Linked DNA regions of Homo sapiens: regions 1 and 2 are each linked to region 3. Evidence: promoter capture Hi-C in 16 types of primary human blood cells and fetal thymus (Javierre and others, 2016). All regions are on one chromosome and are shown on one strand. Each heading gives the region's core, a stretch centred on a gene start or on the middle of the fragment in contact. The rest is flanking DNA. Distances are from core to core; before and after follow the strand shown.

What was found. Contacts are between HindIII fragments. The CHiCAGO score rates a contact against its expected background, and 5 or more counts as called.
Region 1: a contact is called between the fragment with the promoter of LMTK2 here and a fragment that was not itself captured in region 3, in 1 of 17 cell types (neutrophils). The highest score is 6.6, in neutrophils.
Region 2: a contact is called between the fragment with the promoter of BHLHA15 here and a fragment that was not itself captured in region 3, in 1 of 17 cell types (M2 macrophages). The highest score is 8.3, in M2 macrophages.

What each region holds. Positions count from the first base shown.
Region 1 is chr7:98,105,577-98,108,587 of GRCh38, reverse strand. It overlaps LMTK2 (lemur tyrosine kinase 2), which reads right to left and starts at 1,726. Exons shown (of 14, transcript NM_014916.4): 1 at 1,308-1,726. The coding sequence starts at 1,410. The HindIII fragment of the contact is 4,003 bases long and covers 1-2,594 here.
Region 2 is chr7:98,209,789-98,213,219 of GRCh38, reverse strand. BHLHA15 (basic helix-loop-helix family member a15) reads right to left here and starts at 1,781. Exons shown (of 2, transcript NM_177455.4): 1 at 1,722-1,781; 2 at 1-964. The coding sequence starts at 910. The coding sequence ends at 341. RefSeq lists a silencer at 1,720-1,909. The HindIII fragment of the contact is 21,052 bases long and covers 1-3,415 here.
Region 3 is chr7:96,310,281-96,313,417 of GRCh38, reverse strand. The region is part of intron 1 of SLC25A13 (solute carrier family 25 member 13); the gene reads left to right. Among named protein-coding and RNA genes, the nearest start is that of SLC25A13, 10 kb to the left of the region's middle. The HindIII fragment of the contact is 1,124 bases long and covers 901-2,024 here.

The DNA of each region.
Region 1 (3,011 bases), core at 477-2,976, 1.8 Mb before region 3:
ATCTATCGGATCAGAAAACAGAATTCACCTCACAAGTATTTGATCTAAGGCAGTAACAGAAATTTAGTGCTACATTATACGGTACAATGAGGACATTTAACGTTCAACTAAAGGGCACTCAATGACAAACCCTGATGTAGCTCTGGAAGCAATTACATGTAGCTTTCATCGTAGATTTGTTTGAAAAATATGTCTTTACTGGAGACAGTACATCCACATTCTGTACCCAATTAACATTATTCCAAAATAACTCTTGACCTCGAGAGTATTCCAAAACAGTTACAAGACTTAAAAAAAATCATACAACTAGGGGTATCTAAGACCTGGCTTTGGGGCTCTGCCTACAACGAAGCTGTGTCACCCTGGGTAGGTCATTTGACCCAACATGCCCAGTATCTCCTACTACGTAAAGAAGAAATTGGTCTAAATTTTCTTTAAGGTCTCTTCTAACTCTAACATTCTATGAATGTATGAAATTTCAATCTTTCCCCATTTCAAAGGTAATGGCGGCAGTCAATAACGCCAAGTTAGCCTAGATTTTTTTTTCCTTTTTAGAAAAATGACCCAACTTGGGATGTTTTCTTGGGTTGAAGTTTTATTTAGGAAAATAAACCCCAAATAAAAACGATGTTGAGAAAATGGGCGGGGGGGGAGAAAAGAAAATCATACACTGACGTTAGCTAAAATAGAAACTTCCATCACCCTTAAGCCAGTTTGTCAATAGTTATTCAACGCCTGCTACTCTAATCACTGGCTTCCTAAAATAGAAATATTTATAGTTGTTTCCTTCTCATCCCCGGAGATACATTCCGAATAAAAAGCACAGCGTCTAAAATCAATTTACAACTTCAGAATAAGTTGCAAGGAGCGAAAACAAACTCCGCACAGCTCGCCAAGTCATTTGCATTTAAGTATGATTAGGGCTAAGAAACGGTTCTTATGAGATGCGAAAAAAAAGCACAAGAGGCAGGTGACATCTGGAAAGGGAAGCTGAACTGCCAGGAAGCGATATAAGCTGAGGATCTTAAGGCAACAGGTCCAGGGCCGGCACCGCAGCCTATCCCGGGAGGGGTCGGTGGCTGCTACCTCGCCCGCCGCCCTCCCCAGCCCCAACGACGTCGCCTCGCTCCCGCCCCCCCAAATCCCACGCCCCTGCGGCAGAAATCTCCCTAATCACTCGCCTCCCTGGGCTTCCCGCCCCCGGCAGGCCCTCCGATTCCTCGGCGCCGAGGCCGGCCCGGCCCTGCCGCCCCCTCCCCTCCACGCCGAAGACCCCGCAGCCCCGTCCCCGCCGCGGGCCCGCTCACCTGCACCTGTTTGCGGAAGTGGCGCGGCCCCAGCACTGCCGGCGATCAGGAGGACCAGCAGCAGCAGCAGCAGCCTCCGCCGCAACGCCGGCGGCCCCGGCATCTCGCCCACGGCGCGGCTCCGGGGCCGGCCCTCGAGTCGCCTTCCGTCCGTCCGTCCGTTCGCCCGTCAGTCGATCCTGCCTCCCTCCGCTGCCTCAGTGGCACCCGCGCCGGTTGCTCCCGAGCACACGTTGCTTCTGCCAAACCTCGGTCCGGCTCCCGGTCCGCACCTGCCGCTCCAGTCGCAGAAACACCATCCTTCCCGCCCGCCTGCGCCGCCGCCGCCGCCTCTCAACAGCAGCAACGCCAGCAGCCCTGCGGAGCGGCGGGCCTGGGAAGCCGCGCTCCCGCCGCCATGATGGGCTGCGTCATGTGACGTAGCGCGGGGGCGGGATGTCGTGATGGACAGGGCGGCCAGCCACTCGTCAGTCCACACCGGCCCAGGAGGCCCCGCCCATCATCCTGAAGGAGTGAGCGGTGGCGGCCGGTGCGCCCCCTGCAGACGGAGGAGTGCGTGGGCAGCAGGTAACACCAACAATTATTTTAAATTGAAAAATACAGGAAAATGTAAAGAAGACCATGACAATCATCCTGATATTTTTTTCTCGGTGTTTTATAACATGCAAAAATAGGCCTGTCTTGTCTTCTGCCTTTTTTTTTTTTTTACTTGTCAGAGCTGTTTTAGGCTCTTCTCCTTAAGTTGACCTACACATCCTCTCAGCCATCAAACAGCTTTGGGCTTTTCACTTGAATTGATCAAGAGAATGCCTCTCTCGGCATCACCCACTGACTCACCTCCTGAGCTCAAGCTGTTGCCTCTTGTCCACCTGGCAGACACTCTTCCTTTCATCTGTCGAGACTCACCTGACATATGACTTCATCTATGACTCTCTAGGAGAAATGACTGTCATCTCCTTAGTGCCCCGCCCTGGCCCTGTGTGGACTGCTATCCTAGCTGCAGTATCCTATTGACCCGTGACTGTAAGCTCCCTGAGGACAGCAACTGTGTCTGATTCAGCTGGTGGGAAATCCCTGGTGCAGGACCTGGGTCGGAGCAGGTGTTCTCTAAAGCAATGGTGCATGGCCCTGGTCCCAGGTACCAGGGCAGAGCAGCTCCCAGGGGTGGCCTTCTCCCCACCAAGAGGTGAGGTGAGAACACAGTCCTGCAGAGAGGATAGAGAAAGCACTCTCCAGACACAAGTAATATAGTGGTCAGAGGCATGGGGGTTGGGAAAATGCTAAGCTTTTCTGGAGAGGCGCTATGGTTCAGTGTGTGCATGAGAGGAGCTGATTTCAATCTTATCAGATGAGACTTTGCCACCTGGCAACAGTGTAACCTCCCCAATTCTCCAAACTCCCCAAATGTCCATCCTAAATGCCAGCTGTCGATGATGTTAACACAGCACTGGACACACAGATGATGCCCAGGGAATATTTGTTGGATGATTGAGGCAAGCCAATAAATATCTAAGGAGACAAATACCTGGAACGAGAAACATTGAATTTAAAAGTCCATGGCTTGGCTGGGCACGGTGGCTCACACCTGTAATCTCAGCACTTTGGGAGGCCAAGGTGGGTGAATCACTTCAGACCAGGAGTTCAAGACCAGCCTGGCCAACATGGTCATACCCCATCTCTACTAAAAATACAAAAAGTATTAGC
Region 2 (3,431 bases), core at 532-3,031, 1.9 Mb before region 3:
TGAAGAGACGTTAGTTCCAAGGCTAAGGAGGCCTTTCAACTCGGGCTGAGACTGCCTGGCTCAATGAAAAATCAGGATCCAACTGGGCCCTACCTAGAGGTTTGGGCCTCACGCCGCTGTCCAGGGCCACAGCCGCAACTAGGCCACTCGCTGGTCCCCAGCGGGGCAGGAAAAATTGCTCCAGGGAAGTGGCTGAATGTTCGGGGGAAAATGGAACCGCTGAGGCCGTGTCCTTGTGGGGTGTCACCGCCCATCTGGGGCTCGTGGCTTGGAGGGACTGGGGCTGGGAGGAGCAGGCCAGGCAGCTGCGGCCACCGCCACCCCCACCCAGGACTGGGCGCTAGGTGCCCTCTCGGAAGCTGTGGATCTGCGTGGAGTACCTCTGCAGGTGGCCCTGGGGCTGGGCCTCCGTGGCCCCCAACGCACCCCCAGCCACCTGCTGCTGCTGCTGGTAGTGCTGGTAGAGCTTGGGGCCCGGCCCCTCCAGGCCTGGGAGGCGGCTGCTGGACATGGTCAGGATGGTGGCCGTCAGCGATTTGATGTAGTTCTTGGCCAGCGTGAGCGTCTCGATCTTGGAGAGCTTCTTGTCCGCGCGCACGTGGGGGATGACTTCACGCAGGGCCTGGAAGGCGTTATTTAGCTTGTGCATCCGCTGCCGCTCCCTCTCGTTGCTCTCCAGCCGCCGCTGGATGCTGCTGTCACGACGGCCACCGGGCCCGGAGGGTCCTGGCCGCCTGCGCCTGCCCTCGCCCGGAGCCCTTGCTGCGGCCCGGGCCGGCCGGCTCCGCAGACCCTTGGCCGGCTCTGGCCCCGGGTTCGGCAGGGACCCGTCGGGCGTCCCCTCCCCGGGGGTGGCCTCTGTGTCCTGCACCGGGGCCCGGCGCCGTGGGGGCCGGTTCTTGGTCTTCATGGCCCTGGACTGGCTGTCCTAGGAGGTGGCGGCAGGAAGGTGAGGCCCTTGGAGCTGAAATCCAGAACACAGGACACTCTGTGGTCACCCCACATGGGCAGGGGACCCGCTGGGGTGCCGTCCCTGGCAGCCTCCTCCTTGCTGACAGCAATGGTACCAGGGGCAGGGGTTGGCGCTCTGCGACTGGAGGTCCTTCTGTTCACACGCTTAGCCCTGGGCTGACCCCACACACACCCACGCCCTTGCTTTACCTCAAACAGACCTCTGGAATCTGTCCCTGTCCCTGCGTCCCCCTTCCCCCAGGATGACTCATCCTGACCCCTAGATCTTCCTCTGGCTCATGCCCCTCACTGCCCCCAGAGTGCCTCCTGAGCTCGGTGACCTTTGACACTTTGCCTAGAATGCGTCCCCCACCCTAGCTTAGGGGGCGCCTCTGCCGGAGGCGGCACTGACTTCATCCCGTGGGCGGGCAGTGACTCCAGCCACCAGGCTCTCACTGTCCTGCCCCGCTGGACGTGACACGTGCAGGGACAGCACTGGGGCCAGAACCGCTGCGGACATGGGACAGCACTGGGGCCAGAACCGCTGCGGACATGGGGCAGCCGTGGAGGTCAGAGGTCGGCAATGGCCAGGGCCTGGCGGCAGCCCCCAATCCCACCACGTGGATGGGCCCCGTGGAGCCTCCAGACAGACCAGAAGTCCCCCACCCGGGTTTCCCCACAGCCCCCACAACCCCCACAACCCCACCGCCAGGTCCTGCCCCTGGGTCCCCTCCCCGCGGCCCCACCCGAGTTCCCAGCTCCCGGGTTACCTGGGGATCCGCGGCCACACGCGCCGAGGCTGCCCACGGGGGACAAGGACACGTCGCTTTAGCCGCCCCGGGAGGGGCCGCGGACGCATGCAAATGAGCCCTCGGGGCGGGGCCGGGGCGGGGCCGGGGTCCGGGTGTCCCGGCGGGCGCTGGGCAGCAGTGGCGGCACCTGCGGGCGGGCGGGCGGGAGGCCGGCGCCTGGGGCTCCCGGACCAGGTGGCCGCGCAGCCCCGCCCCCAGCTTCCGCCCCGCCCCCAAGATAGAAAACCTCCCCCGCCCGCCTCTCCCCATCCTCCCCCTACTGCCCCCCACCCTCGTCCCCCAAGACAGCCACCCCCGCCCGCCTCTCCCCACCATCCCCCGACAGCCCCCGACCCTCGTTCCCCCAGACAGCCTCCCCCACACGCTTCTCCCCATCCTCCCCCGACAGCCCCCCAACCGCCCCGAGATAGCTTCCCCCCATTCGTCTCTCCCCATTCTCCCGCTACAGCCCCCCCAAGACAGCCTGCGTCCCCACCTCCCCTACTCCCGTCCCCCGACAGCCTCCCCACAACCTGCTTTTCCCCATCCTCCCCCTCAATTTCCACTCGCGCCTTTCCCACCCGCCTACCCCATATCCGTGCCCGAGACAGCCTCCCCCCGCCCGCTTTCCCCGACCCTCCCCCTGACACAGCACCCCCGCATCCATGCCTCCCGCGATCCTCCTTGCCCGGCCTCTCCACTCGTGGCGGGGCCCGGGCCCATTCCGCCAATGGGAAACAGGTCTCTGGGAGCCGCCGGAAGGAGGGGCAGCCCCGATTCAGGCTCAGCACACAGATCCCAAGTCCCAGGAGCACTCCGGGACGAGCCGCTCCGCGAAAACGCGGGCATCTCCCAGGGGATCCCCCGCCCCGCCGCCCGGGATGTTTAGGGGAACCTGGGGCTCCTACGGGCTGGGGGCGGAGCCCGAGTTGGGGTGGGGGTGGGGGGCTCCTTGGGCAGGTGTGCAGTCCTTGGGAACGCCTGTTTTGTTTGTTTGTTTGTTTTTGAGACGGAGTTTCGCTCTTGCTGCCCAGGCTGGCGTGCAATGGAGCGAGATGATCTCGGCTCACCGCAACCTCCGCCTCCCGGGTTCAAGCGATTCTCCTGCCTCAGCCTCCCGAGTAGCTGGGATTACAGGCATGCACCACCACGCCCAGCTAATTTTTGTATTTTTAGTAGAGACGGGGTTTCTCCACGTTGGCCAGGCTGGTCTTCAACTCCTGACCTCAAGTGATCCACCCGCCTCGGCATCCCAAAGTGCTGGGATTACATGCGTGAGCCACCACGCCCAGCCAAAGCAGCATCTTGCTCAGGGACTATTCGGGGCTGCTAGGGGTGCGGTGACTGCACGCTGCTGGGGGTGCGGTGAGTGTCACGCTGGCTGGCAGGCCTGGGCTCCACACTCATGGGTCTCGCCGCTCTGTCTCAGTACCTCTGGGTGGGAACTCAGAGGGGCCATAGTGGGGCGGGGGGCGGGCACAGAAAGGCTAGCTTGGAGCCAAGGTTAGTTAGTTCTTCTCTTGGCCTAAAGCTCATTTGAGGCTGGGCCAAATGAGGTCCTTGGAAATGAAAATGCTTCCGAAATTCATGAGTGCAAAGGCATGGTTTATAGACATGCTTCAAGGTGGCAGGAACACTAAACAGGTTTGGTTTTCCAGTGGTTATACAAAGCTTTATGTCCTCAGGAGT
Region 3 (3,137 bases), core at 213-2,712:
CCACGGTGGATATATACCACATTTTCTTTATGCAATTCACCATTGATGGGCACCTAGGTTGGTTTCCTGTCTTTGCTACTGTGAATAGTGCTGTGCCTTGTGGGCTTCTCTTCATTCTGCCTGGACACCTGGAAGGTTAGTGTCCCCCAAGGCTGTGCCTGAGATTGTCTCCTCCCTCCAGTTCCTGCCGCACTACCTGCCCCCTTAATGGGTATTGGCTCCTTAACACTCCTCAGCCTGGGTGGCTGTCTCAAGCTCTAGCCCTGCACTTTTAGCTGTTTAGTTTGAGCTGGAAGACTCAACTTGTCTGTCTCAAAGATATTTCAAACTCTGCTGACCTAGAACTCACCAGTTCTTATAACTGAATCCATCTTTTTGGTCATTCCTGACTTCATCCTGCAGCTTCACTTTCCTGATAAAGTTTCTAGTTAGTTCAATTAAGTACCTGTTATGGGCAGATAGGAGAGACACCATCAGCCTGAATTGGATGTGGCAAAAGAGGTGGATCAGTGAAACCCTTCTACGGCCATGGAGCATGTATGTCCTATCTTCTCTGTTCAAATTCAGGGCCTCTTTATTTTGTAGCTGTACCATTGCTGTAGCTCCCACTGATCCCCTTGCTTTTGATCTCATCCCTACACCTTCCTCTCCATTCTGTCCAGACTGCCAAAGGACTTTTCTAAGATTGGCTCTTGTTGCCATGATAATAGCACTACCGTGTTCATGGGTACAGTACTTAGCAGCTTTAAAAAGTGCATTCAAGGGCATAAGTGACGACGACTGTTTGTCAGTGCCTACACTGTGCTGGGATTCCAAAAACAGGTAAGCTACTAGATTTGTTTTCAAGAAGCTCAAAGTCTTCAGGGATTAATATAACCAGATAATATAAAGACCCAAGCTTCATTATTTGATCTTTATAATCATCTACAAGGTAGCAGGGAACGTGTTGATAACCTCATTTGTCAGATAAAGAAACCTAAGGCTCAAAAAGGTTATGCAAATAATAATAATAATATTAGCATATGTTTATATAACACTTGTAAAAGCCGGACACTGTTCCAAGCACTTTATATCTACTAATGCAATCTTCATAACAATCCTATGACATGTAAGTGCTCTCACCTTCATAATATACATCGAGAAACTCATTTGTACAGAGTAGTTAAGTTCTTTGAGGTACAGAGAGATTACATAACTTGCCCAAGATCACATGGCTTGTAAATAGGAGAGCTATGATTTCAACACAGGCAGCCTGGCTCCAGAGCCCAAGCACATAACCAGTGTGCTGCATTGCCCTCTTTAATTTATCTTGCTATGCAGTGTGGCTTCTGTTGCCTGCAGAATAAAATTTAAACTCTTTAGCCAGCTAAAATCTCCTTGGTCTTGGCTGCATTTTCAATACTTTTAATTTAGTACTTTCCCAGTATTACCCCAGACTCATTCGATTTTCATATTCTTCACAGCAGTTTGTGAACGGGACATAACAACCTCTGTTCATATTTCTTGCCATAAAGCTATGGCAACAGGGTAGCAGGATAAAAGAGAGCCTGTTTATTTGTTTGTTTAACATAGAGGTCAGTCAGAGACAGAAATGTTTCTTTTTTTTTAGCCTTTGTCAGAAAGAAATACTTCTTTTCATTTCTCTGTATTGGTGGGCAGATATATATATATTTGTCTGAGTTCTTCTCTTCAGTTTTCAGAAGGGGTTGTGGTTCTATTTTCCCATTTCTTGAAGTCCCTGTAGGAATGCTAAAACCCATGTCCTAAGATTACAGTTTTTATAGTTGGTTTGTTCTAATCAATATTCAGATATAGTCCACACATGGCTGGTTGATACGTCTTTTAAATCTTGTTAATCTATAGGTTTTCCTGCCCCCTTTTTGGTTGTTTCCTTGCAGTTTATTTGATGAGGGAATTGGGTCGTCTTTCCTGTAATTTCCCACAATTTGGACTTTGCTGATTACGTCTTTGTGGTGTTGCTTGGCCTCAGTATTTCCTGCAAGTGACAGTTTAATCTAAAAGCTTGATCAAGTTAGAGTCTTTTTTGGTTTTGGCTAGAATACTTCCTAGATGGTGCTTAGAGCTTCCCATCACATTGCTGGGTACTTGGTACTGGGTACTCACATGAGGAAGCACCTAATTCTTGGTTGTTTCTTGTGATGTTACGTTTTGGTCAGTGGTTTCAGATGTTGTTATCTTAAGTCCACCAGCTTTTTGCATAATGGTTTTAATTAGCTAACTTTAAATATTAACATTTGCCCTTCCTGGTACATTGAGTTAAAAGTGATTTTCATTATTTAAATACACACTCTTGTGTGTATGTATGCATATTATGTATGTATGTATGTCTATATATGAGTATATATCATTGTTATAAAAAATAATGGCAATTAAAATTCAATTGGATATTAATGGGTTTAGAGTTTATGTTTGGGATGATGAAATGGGTAATGGTGATGTAGAACATTGTGAATGTACTTAATGCCACTGAATTGTATACTTAAAAATGGTTACAATGGTAAACTTTATGGTATGTATATTTTACCACAATGAAGACAAATCAATTGGAAAGGGATTGTAACACATGGAATTAAAAAAATCCAACACAACATAATGAGTGATAATTATTGCTCCCTAAAAGGAGCCAAAGTGAGTTGGAGAATAGACTGATAAAGTTTCTTTACTGAAGAATGCTAGCTAATAAAGGTAGAAGCTATGCTAGAATTAGAAAAAGGAAAAAAAATTGACTTTGCCACCTGCAAGTAATAATTGATTCAGGCATGGATCATCATTGGATGCTGAAGCCTTTCAGTAAAAGACTGTTGGAATTCCCATTGTCTGAATGCATCTCCTAGTAAATTACTTGCTGTTTACAGAGGGGAAAAAGTACCTTTACAATGGAGAAATCTGCTTCAACCAAGTGATCATCAGCAAATGGGATAAACTAGCATTATGTTACCGACTGATATTATGCATTGGGAAGTATACAACATGAACCTAAAAATGTTCTTGCCAAAAATATTTAATCTGGATCTAATCGTGAGGAAACAATCAGACAAATCCAGAAAGTAGGACATGCTGCAAGACCTCTGGCTTGACTTCAAAAATGTCAGTGTTATGAATGAAGAAGGCTGGAA